Regions from separate parts of the Homo sapiens genome. Here regions 1, 2 and 3 are each linked to region 4. The links are contacts of gene promoters, found by promoter capture Hi-C in blood cells and fetal thymus (Javierre and others, 2016). All regions are on one chromosome and are shown on one strand. The core of a region is centred on a gene start or on the middle of the fragment in contact, and the rest is flanking DNA. Distances in the headings are between cores, read along the strand shown. Region 1 overlaps RYR3 (ryanodine receptor 3). Region 2 overlaps RYR3 (ryanodine receptor 3). Region 3 overlaps RYR3 (ryanodine receptor 3). Region 4 holds the start of RYR3 (ryanodine receptor 3).

Region 1 (2,700 bases), core at 44-2,543, 290 kb before region 4:
GTTCCTATTTAAAGACTAAATAAAATGCTTTTTAAAGTTCCTGTAACTTAAGTAAAATCTTTTTTTTTTTTTTGAGACAGAGTCTCACACTGTTGCACTGTCGCCCAGGCTGGAGTACAGTGGTGCAATCTTGGCTCACTGCAACCTCCGCCTCCCGGGTTCAAGCGGTTCTCCTGCCTCAGCCTCCTGAGTAGCTGGGAATACAGGCGCCCACAACCCAGCTAATTTTTTGTATTTTTAGTAGAGACAGGGTTTCACTATGTTGACCAGGCTGGTTTCGAACTCCTGACCTCGTAATCTGCCCACCTCAGCCTCCCAAGGTGCTGGGATTACAGGCGTGAGCTACTGCGCCTGGCCAGTGAAATCTTTAATAAATAAGCTAGCTTTAAAATTACTGGTAAACTACTATTATAAATGCCTTAAGTATTGCCCAGCATACATTTTTGTTTGCATTTATTCATCAAGCAATTTCATACTTATCCCTGCCAAAATACTGTAAGGTGTCAAAATTTGGCATAGGGGTTACAAAACTACAAGCCCAGCCCAAAACAGAATAATCTTTGCTTTTGTAATTTGTAATAAATAAGACATTGATAAGGGTTTAATGATAATAGTTGTATCTTGAATTTAGTAAGATTACCGTAACTTCTAATCCGGTGGCTTTAGGCAGTCTAGTCCACAGGCAATAAGGAGGTTTGTTTTGGGAAAGAACTGTTATTGTCTATTTCAAAGCTAAACTACAAACTATGTTCCTCTCAAAGTTAGTTCGGCCTATGCCCAGGAATGAACAAGGACAGCTTGCAGGTTAAGAGGGAGGGGTGGGGGAAGAGAAGGATAGGGACAGATTTGTTTAATGATACAAAATTACAGCTAGATGGGAGGAATAAGTTCTAGTGTTCTATAGCAAAGAGATTATGGTTTTTGCCATTGAAAGGAATGGCAAACTGCAATTACTTTTGCACCAATCTAATAGTTAACAATAATATATTATATGGTTTCAAATAGGAGGATATTGACTATTCCCCACACAAAGAAATGATAAATGTTTGAGATGGTGGACATGCTAATTACCCTGATCTGATTACCATGTATATTATATGTATCACAACATCACTATGTACCCCATGAACATGTACAAGTATTATTCATCCACTTAAAATAAATAAATAAAAAGAAGTCAGAAATCCCCCCCCCCCAAAAAAAGAACAATATTGAGTTGGTCAGATCAAATCTCTTTTCAGTGTCTCAGTTATAATTTTGCAACGGCAGTTTTATAACTTTAAATAATGACTGTCACAGTTTTCGTGAATAATCTAGGTAAACAAAACAATTAGGTAAATGTAATGGCACAAATATTTGTAGACAAACTGGTCATAATTTAGAATATAAAGCTATATTAAATCAAATAATAGATATTTCACTATTTGGGTATTTTCCAATAAATACATATTGTAGGAAAACATTATTGTTAAAGAAAAAAAAAGTGTGTCCTTAAAAAAAAGTGAACAAGTTTTGTCTAATTCAAAACTTAAAGGTTATGTATACAACAAGGTAAAAGGAACCAGGAATAAAAAAGACGTAAAGAAAGTTATAAAAATAAAGAGGCTTTTTTTTTTGAGGTGAAAAACTTAAAGAGAAATAATTTTATATAAGAAAGAATCTTGTATGGTAAATTTAGTCCTAAAATAAAATCACTGATTTTTTAAAAAGGAGGGATGTTCAGAATAAATCAGAAAGTCCAACCCTGTCATGAGCAGTCAGTGTAAGTCACAATAAGAGGATTTACACTTTAAAAAAAATTCACACAATCAAGTTGTCATATGAAGTTTTGGTTTGCTTAGGGAAAAAAACTGAGATAAATTTTTTTTTAAATTAAGGTTATTACATTATTACATCCATGTATCTTCCTGTATGTGCTTTTAAAGTTCTTGTAACATTGAGTTACAGGGCTCTAACTCCTGGGTCTAAAAAGGACACCAAGTCCTGCTAAATCTTAAACACTGATAGCAATTGAAGGCTCATCTTCAGGCCCGATAGAAGATGTCAATCAAAATAAACTGCATTCCTGAGACACAGGGCAAGAAATTAAAGCTATTCAACTCCTCAAGGCCCAGGGACTGTCTCCAAACAGGTGGGTGTGTAAGATTATAAGATTGTAAGGTGGGCCAATTTTGAAAGATAAAATAAGTGCAGTTCCTCTATAAACTAATTATTAATGTTAAAGGCAAACTGATGCAAAACCAGTATATGGACCCCTGTGTCAGATTAACAAGGTTTTCTTGAAGCATTAACCAACTTCTTAATAAAGATTATAAAGGTTACAAAAGGCTTACGGAAGTTATATTTTATAATCAAGATTAAATTTTATAAATTGTTTATAAAAGTTTGAAAGCAAACGTAATTGACTTCATGCTGTTTCTATTAGGGCTTCCTTGTTTAGAAAATTAAGTCTTCTCTCTCAAAGAATGAAGGTTTTCACTTTTTGAAATGCTTGAATTATCACTTAAATAAATGACTTTACAATGACCTGTAATCCTATTTTGTAGTATCAAGTGTTTTAAACCTTTTATATTTGACAAACTTTCCAAAATCAAATTATAAATTATGTCTTTTTCTAATCTAATCTTTTAAGACATTAGGTTCCCTAAAGTCCAAAAATGACATAATTTAGCTTATTTGGTATAAAAATTATACAGGAAG
Region 2 (2,828 bases), core at 316-2,815, 260 kb before region 4:
TGGAGTGCAACGGCACGATCTTGGCTCACTGCAACCTCCACCTCTTGGGTTCAAGTGATTCTCATGACTTAGCCTCCTCAGTAGCTGGCATTACAGGCATGCGCCACTATGCCCGGCTATTTTTGTATTTTTAGTAAAGACGGGGTTTCTCCATGTTGGTCAGGCTGGTCTCGAACCCCCGACCTCAGGTGATTCGCCCACCTTGGCCTCCCAAAGTGCTGGGATTACAGGCGTGAGCCATTGTGCCCAGCCCAGTGTGTGTGTGTGTGTGTGTGTGTGTGTGTGTATATATAGTTTTTTTTTTTTAATTTAATGAGCCTTAGGAAGAACAGTTGGAGTCTATGGTGTTTCAGCCTGTTGATGCTTCCATCTCCCTCCCCCCACCGCCTCATGGCAAAACAGCTCCAACAGGGCAGAGTAGGCAGTGGGCAAGGCCACACACATGCTCGGGAAAAACTGGAGAGGACCCTAGCTATCTATTCATTCCCGCACAAGCAGAAGACAAAATCCAGGATAGAACTCTAAACTGCCTGAACCTCGAACTGTCATTCAGCCCACACACACAGGTCCATCAGCAAATAGTCACAGGCTTGTCTTGTAAGAAATACTAAGGGAAGTCCTTCAGGCTGAAAGAAAATGACACCAAACAGTAACTGGAATCCATGCAAAGAAATAAAGAATACTGGTAAAGGTAACTATGCAGGTAAATACCAGAAACAATATAAAAACATGTATCTTTCTTTTATGTTCCTGTAATTTATTCAAAAAACAACTTCATAAAATAATTATAAAACTGCGTTGCTGAGCTTATAACTTATGAAGATATAATATATGTGGCAATATTATCACAAAGGAGTAGGCAAAGAATGGAAAAATGTTAATGCAAAGTTGCTTTGTTAAGTTAGTATTAATTTGAAGTGGATTATTTCAAGTTAAATATATATTAAGTTCCCTAGAGCAACCACTAAGAGAATAACTCCTCAAAAAAGTATTTTTAAAAACCCAAATTAATTAAAATGTTACACTAGAGAATATCTATTTAACACAAAAAAAGGTAGTAAGGGAGGAATAGAGGACCAAAAAATAACAAAAGAAACATAAGAAATAAATAGCAAAGTGGCAGACATAAATCCAGTTATCTAAATAATTACATTAGATATAAATGGATGAAGCATACCAATGAAAGGGAGAGATTGTCAGACTATTTTAAAAAATCAAATATGTGTTGTCTACAAGGGACACACTTTATATTCAAGGACACAAATAAGTTAAAAGTACAAAGATTGAAGACAATATGCCATACAAACAAAAAACATAATCTGCACATTCAAGACACCTGGAATGGCTCTATGAAGTAGACTTAAGACAAAACTGTTCATAAAGAAAAAAGAAAAATAGTTTAAAATTACAAAAGGGCAAATTTATCAGAAATATATATCTATTATAAACATATAAGCACCTAACAACAGAAACCAAAATATGTGAAGCAAAAACTGATGGAATTGAAGTAGAAGATGACAATTCAACAGTAACAGAAACATCAATACCCGATTCTCCACCAGTTAATGTAATAAACCATATTAACAAAGGACAAAACTATATGATCATATCGATAGACCAAGAAAAAGCATTTGAAAAAATCTAATGCTCATTCAAGATAAAAGCTCTCAACAAACCAGGAATAGAAGGGAACTTCCTCGACCTGATAAAGGGTATCTACAAAAACCCTACAGTCAATATCGCACTTAACGGTGAAAAATTGGTGTTTCCCACCCTGTCCCCACCCCCACCTTAGATCAGGAACAAGACAAGAATGTCTGTTCACATCACTTTTATTCCACATTGTAGTGGATGTTCCAGCCAGTGCAATAATGCAAGAAAAATAAATAAAGGGCATCCCTATTGGAAAGAAAAAAATAAAGCTCTTTTTATTCACAGATGACATAATCCTGTATGTAAAAAGTTCTAAAGAATCCACCTGCTCCCCAAAAAGCCCACTGAACTAATAAATAATTTCAATTAGGTCAATGACATAAGATCAGTATTTTTAAAACTTAATTTCTATATACCAGAAAATAATCTGAAATGAAATCAAAAAAATAATTATATTTGTAGTAGCACCAAAAAGAATCAAATACATAGGAATACATTTCATAAAAGAAGTGCAAGACTTATATAATAAAAACCACAATATCTTCCTGAAAATAATTAAAAAATAAATAGACATTTTATGTTTGAAGATTGGAAGACTTAATGAGGATAACAGTCCTCCAAAACTGATCTCTAGATTCAATTTAATACCCATCAAAATTCCAGCAGAATTTTTTTTGGACAAAAATTAATAAACTCACTCTAAAATTTACATGGGAATACAAAGGACCCAGAAGCACCAAAATAAATTTTGCAAAGAAGTAAAAAATTGGAGCATTCACTGTACATGATTTCAATACTTACTATAAAGGCACATTAATTAAGACAGTGTCATTTTGGAATAATGACAGGCATATAGATCAATGGAACAGAACTAAGCGTCCAGAAAGAACTCTTATATTTATGATCACTTGGCTTTTGACAAAGGTGCCAAGGTAACTTGATGGGGAAATATTCTCTTTCCAGAAAACTGTGCAGGGGAAAATCTGATATCCATATGGCCACACGCAAAAATATTAATTTAAACCTTTACCTCATACTATGCACAGAAATAGACTCAAAATAGATCACGGACCTAAATGTAAACGCTAAAATTTTGAAACTTTTAGAAAAACACAGAGGAGAAAATCATGATGATTTTGAGTAAGGTAAAGAGTTCTTAGATATGACACCAAAAG
Region 3 (2,700 bases), core at 133-2,632, 300 kb before region 4:
TGAACTGTTTAGAGAATCTCAAAATCAATTTGGCCACATAATTATAAATTTAGACTTTAAAGCACACATGCATTCTGACCAAAAATGAAATTGGCATAGACTTGAACAGCAAAGTAATGGCTGTATCATGAAACAGCCAAATAAAGGGCTATTATATGGCTATAAAATCATTTTGAAGATACTCAATGACTCAGGAAAAGGCTCATTATTGTTGAATAAAAGATAATCAAGACATAAACTTCATATTCGGTGTAATACCAATTAAAAAATGATGTATATTTGTAGAAGAAAGGACTTGAAAAATATGCCAAAGTATTAATAGAGATTATAGCTAACCATTGGAATCATAGGTGATTTTTACTGTGTTGTTCATAACTATTGTCTTTGAAGTTTTTCTTATAATGAGCATGTAATACTTTTATAATTATTAATTTTCTACACAGGATTTATCCTATTAATCTTACTGTTTATCTGAGTACATAATACAACCCCTGGGGGAGGTTCTACCAGTAGAGATGGAGCAAATGACTCTAGTTGGCTCTTGCCCTTGCACCATCACTGTCCTGGGGAACTTAGTTCACAGTACTGAAGCCCTGAAGGAGACTGCTGGCTTCGCAGCTCACAGTGGTGGCGGGGAGGTGGGGTAACTGCTACTCTCCATGAAATCACAGCCATAACTTACTTGACACCTGCTGAAAAGCTCATCACAGGGAAGAAGAGCCCGTCTGTGTTGAAGTTCTCAAACATCCCCTGCACGGGCTGCCCATTGATGCGGAATGAGATGCTGGGCACCCCGAGGTCCAGGCAGCAGCTTACCACGTCATCCGATCTCAGGAGGTGCTGGTTGATGGAAGCCACAGCTCTGGGTATCCGGCCTGGTGAGGAAAGAACAGGAAGAAGGCTGTGGAACTCTGGAGGCACCTGCTAGGCTGAGAAAGGCTCAGAGGCCTCTGCGGGAGGTGGGGAGGTGTGATGGGTACTCAAGAGGTCCGGAGGTACTACTGCATTTGAAATGCAACTTTCCTTTTGTTTCCTTTTGTGTGAGATGAGCAATGAGAAATGAATTCCTAAGCTGGCGAGTGGGCAGACACCATGCCTGATTTGCGATGAGTCTCAGGGGAAATGCTCAAGCTGCTAAGAATGAGAAATAACAAAAACTTAATGTGCTCAATGAGTGTTCAGACTGTGGCCTGGTGTCTGAAGTAACAGACAGACTGCTTTTGCTGGTGTAGCTTGCTCTTCAGAAGTAGCTGGTGTGTGTGTCTGTTTAGTTGTAAGTGCCCAAAGACCTTCCTGTCTTCTACTTCCTCAAAAAGATTAGACTGCTGTAGAGTTGAATAGAGAAGCCATCAAAGAGAAGAATGGCAAGGCCATCTAGCCATTAAACTATGCTACATAGGCTGGGCACAGTGGCTCACGCCTGTAATCCCAGCACTTCCGGAGGCTGAGGCAGGTGGATCACCTGAGGTCAGGAGTTCGAGACCAGCCTGACCAACATGGAGAAACCCCGTCTCTACTAAAAATACAAAAGTAGCCGGGTGTGGTGGCGCATGCCTGTAATCCCAGCTACTCGGGAGGCTGAGGCAGGAGAATCGTTTGAACCCGGGAGGCAGAGGTTGCAGAGAGCCGAGACCGTGCCATTGCACTCCAGCCTGGGCAACAAGAGTGAAACTCCATCTCAAAAAACAAACAAACAAAAAAACTATGCTACGTAGTTTGCTTATTTGTTTTAAAGAACTTTATTATTTCGGATAAGCAGGAAAACACATTGCCAGTTATACTCTGAATTGATTAAAAAACTTCTTCACATCTCTTTCATTAGATGATTTATTATTTCCTGACTTAAAGTAGTGAGGAAAATCACCTCTCTGCTTTCCTATATCATCTTATTCTGGAAATTCTAAAAGTAAATATTAATAATTATAACCACCTACCCCTCCCCTCTCAGGTTTACATTTCTATTAGAAAGAGAGCAACAAAAGAGGAGTTAGGTTTTAAAATAGAGCTTCCAGCAAAAGATAAAAAGATATCTTGTTTCTTGATTACAGAAATAATATGTATTCATTATAAATGGTCACCATTTATACAGGAAAGTATACAAAAAGGCTGGGGAGCTCATGCCTATAATCCCAGCACTTTGGGTGGCCAAGGCAGGCAGATCGCTTGAGCTCAGGAGTTTGAGACCAGCCTGGCCAACATGGTGAAACTCTGTCTCTACTAAAGATACAAAAATTAGCTGGGCGTGATGACGTGCACCTGTAGTCCCAGCTACTTAGGGGGCTGAGGTGGAAAGATAGCTTGAACCCAAGAGGTGGAGGCTGAGGTGAGCTGAGATCATGCCACTGCGCTCCAGCCTGGGCGACAGAATGAGACCCTGTCTCAAATAAATACAAAAGAAAAAATATAACTCCATAAAAATTCTTCCAAATATATATGTACACACTCTATTTTGATGGAGTTATATATATTTTATGGAGTTATACACATTTTTTTTTCTTTTTGGAGACAGAGTCTCACTCTGTCGCCCAGGCTGGAGTGCAGTGGCACAATCTGGGCTCAATGCAAGCTCCACCTCCTGGGTTCACGCCAGGAGGCTGCCTCAGCCTCCCAAGTAGCTGGGACTACAGGTGCCCGCCACCACGCCCGCCTAACTTTTTGTATTTTTAGTAGAGATGGGGTTTCACCGTGTTAGCCAGGATG
Region 4 (2,700 bases), core at 164-2,663:
CCAAATAAGACCCAAGTCCCAGCTTTGACAAAAGAACCATGTTTGGAAGAGAAACTGAAGTAAATTGGAAGGAAGCGCTTCAACAGGAGGAGAGTGGTTCAAAAGATGGACAAGAGGTAAGTTGTGATCTTCGAAGACCAGGTCATGGAGAAGGGGGCACCCTTAAAGGGAAGTGAGAGAGGGAAAGAAAGAATTTCATTCTAATTCCTGAGAGCAAGGCAGCGCATATAAAATTACCTAAGATTTACAGAGCGATTTGCCGTTTACAAAACATTATGACATTCACGATAACGTTTAATCCTTATCACCCTGAAACGCTGGTTACATTTTATTTTACACATGAGGAAACTGAGGCTGAGTAGGGCGGATTATGCGACTTGCTCAAGGTCACTTGGCTGAAGTCAGCGCTAGGATGCATCCCCAATGCCCCCACCCCTCCGGGTGGCCGTCCACCCTGAAAGTCTTTGTATTATCTCCTACAGGGCAAGGCTGGTGTGGCTGCAACAGACTTCGCCCCCTCACCCCCAAATCTGGGACGGAGCAGCGCCCTCAGGTGTCAAGGAGGGGACCTGAGTGACGCGGAGCCACTGACTGGGGTTTCCCTGTCCTGCGGGGCTCGCGGGAGCCAGGAGCAGAAGCCACAGCTCTCGAACACACGACAGGCAGTCAGTCAAGTCAGGCTCCAGCAGCAGTTGCCGGCGTGGGGCTTAACACGAGAGGGGCAGCGCTGGGTGAATTCCCCTCCGAGCGATCCCAGGGCTAGGACCAAGCGCCTGCGCCCGCTTCTCCGACCCGGCTCCCCACACTCCCCCCTGCCCCGCTGGCTCCTTCCCGGAGGTTCCCCTGTGCGTGGGGGCGCCCTGGAAGAGGAATGGGGCTGGGGTGGAGTATGGAGGTGTCAGAGGGCCGACCCCGGGGCGAGGGCTTCCAACGCCGATCTTATGGGTCAGGACAACCGCGAACAAACCCCGGCTGAAGTTTGGGCATCAAGGGTTTCAGACCAAGTAGCAAGTTGCCTGGAGAGCGAGCGGTCCTAGGTGGAGGGCCTGGGGCAGGGGTGGCGGTAGGGGAACAAGGGAGAGGCAGGAGATGGTGCCCCTTCCCACGCAGCCCCTCGCGGCCCCGCGGGTAGGTGGCCGGTCCGCCTCTGCAGCCCGCGGGTGCGGAGAAAGCGCCCGGCACCGGGCACCCGGCACCGCGGCGCAGCGCAGCCAGCCCCTCCTCGCCGCGCTCCGCGCTCCTCCCCACCTGCCCACGGCCTCGCCCCCGCCGCGGAGACTCACAGTCCTCAGAAACTGGATCTCGTCCTCGCCTCCTTCTCCCCCTTCGGCCATGGCTCCCGAGGCGTCGGCGGTGCCCCAGCCTCCGGCGCCTCTGCTTCCCCCGGCAGCCGCTCGGCGTGCGCTGACTGCTGCTGCGCTCTTTCTCCTCCTCCTTTTCGTCCTCGTCCTCCACCTCCTCCTCCAGCTCCTGGCTCAGCCTCAGCCTCAGCAGCGCCAAGCTAATCCCCGACCATATAGGGAGCTGGGCTAACACTCCACTGCACTGCAGAGCGCCAACGCCAACCAAGCAGTCCGCCCACCCCTCTCGCCTCTCGCCCCAGCCAAGTGCGCTGCGGCCGCCCGCTCCGTGGAGAGCGCAACGCTGGGCGCGTCGAGCTGGCGGGGGCGGTGCGGGGGCCCTGGGCTGGCGCGGTGGAGCCTCCCCCGCACCGCTGGGTACCGCACCGCACACTCAGCGGAGGCGCGCGCCCCGCGGCGACCGGAGGATGTCCCCTAAACTGCTCCAATTCACAAACAAAGGCCAGTTGCTTAGCTCCAGCGCGCCCAGACTGGGTACCAACCCTCTCGCTTTGCTCGCTTTGCCCGCTTTGCCCACTTTGCCTGTGTGTGTGTGTGTGTGTGTGTGTGTGTGTGTGTGTGTGTGACAGAGATAGAGAGAGAGAGAGAGGAAAGAGAGAGACAGAGACAGAGAGAGAGAGAGAGGAAAGAGAGAGACAGAGACAGAGAGACAGAGAGAGGAAAGAGAGAGAGACAGAGACAGAGAGAGAGAGAGAGAGAGAGAGAGAGATCTGGACTCGAATACCTTGCTAGGACCCGCGTGCATTGTTGGGCAAGGAGAAGACGGTGCAGTGAGGAGCGAGGGTGATTGTCCACTTACAACAAAGTTTGCAACTCCCTGGATAGTCCTTTCTACACCTTAAGAGAACCCCTTCCCCTCTTCAAAATTGGTAAGTACACTTTACCAAACCCCTGGATTGTCCAGGGTTGCTGTGACTTCTGTACCCCAGGGAGCTTCTGGGGGATCCTGTGCCACCCTCAATTTGGAAGTCAGGTGGCATCACAACCCTTCCTCTCTGCCCACCCCTAACCTTATTCTGCATTTAGAGTTCCAGCCCTGTGGACTCTAAAGGGAGTAGAGAGTAGTTACAGGAGGCTCCCTTCCAGGTCCTGGAAGGCTCCTACATCCCACCCAGCCTTAGGTCCTTTTCCATGGTTGGGGATTGCCAGATTGGTCCTTGCCTTGACTGACGGTGCAGGGTGCCCCCTTCTGTTTGATGGCCGAGAAGCTCCAAGGCAAGAGACTGTTCAAGGCAAAAGGCACCAGAGATGTAGATTTAGGAGGAAGTGCAACTGGGAAGGTGGTAATTCTGGGCTGATGATGGTGGAAGACACTGGAAACCCCAAGCCATTTCACAGC

What was found. Contacts are between HindIII fragments. The CHiCAGO score rates a contact against its expected background, and 5 or more counts as called.
Region 1: a contact is called between a fragment that was not itself captured here and the fragment with the promoter of RYR3 in region 4, in 2 of 17 cell types (erythroblasts and megakaryocytes). The highest score is 7.5, in erythroblasts.
Region 2: a fragment that was not itself captured here is called in contact with the fragment with the promoter of RYR3 in region 4 in 1 of 17 cell types (erythroblasts); the score reaches 5.0 in erythroblasts.
Region 3: a fragment that was not itself captured here is called in contact with the fragment with the promoter of RYR3 in region 4 in 4 of 17 cell types (erythroblasts, megakaryocytes, M1 macrophages and 1 more); the score reaches 16.3 in erythroblasts.

What each region holds. Positions count from the first base shown.
Region 1 is chr15:33,594,992-33,597,691 of GRCh38, reverse strand. All of the region lies in intron 16 of RYR3 (ryanodine receptor 3), which reads right to left. Among named protein-coding and RNA genes, the nearest start is that of RYR3, 290 kb to the right of the region's middle. The HindIII fragment of the contact is 8,809 bases long and covers 1-2,700 here.
Region 2 is chr15:33,570,117-33,572,944 of GRCh38, reverse strand. The region is part of intron 12 of RYR3 (ryanodine receptor 3); the gene reads right to left. Among named protein-coding and RNA genes, the nearest start is that of RYR3, 260 kb to the right of the region's middle. The HindIII fragment of the contact is 6,374 bases long and covers 1-2,828 here.
Region 3 is chr15:33,611,358-33,614,057 of GRCh38, reverse strand. It overlaps RYR3 (ryanodine receptor 3), which reads right to left. Exons shown (of 104, transcript NM_001036.6): 19 at 683-875. Among named protein-coding and RNA genes, the nearest start is that of RYR3, 300 kb to the right of the region's middle. RefSeq lists an enhancer at 821-1,322. The HindIII fragment of the contact is 5,835 bases long and covers 1-2,700 here.
Region 4 is chr15:33,309,680-33,312,379 of GRCh38, reverse strand. RYR3 (ryanodine receptor 3) reads right to left here and starts at 1,413. Exons shown (of 104, transcript NM_001036.6): 1 at 1,284-1,413. The coding sequence starts at 1,334. It overlaps RYR3-DT (RYR3 divergent transcript), which reads left to right and starts at 1,721. Exons shown (of 3, transcript NR_120327.1): 1 at 1,721-1,802. RefSeq lists enhancers at 171-680, 681-1,192. The HindIII fragment of the contact is 6,631 bases long and covers 1-2,700 here.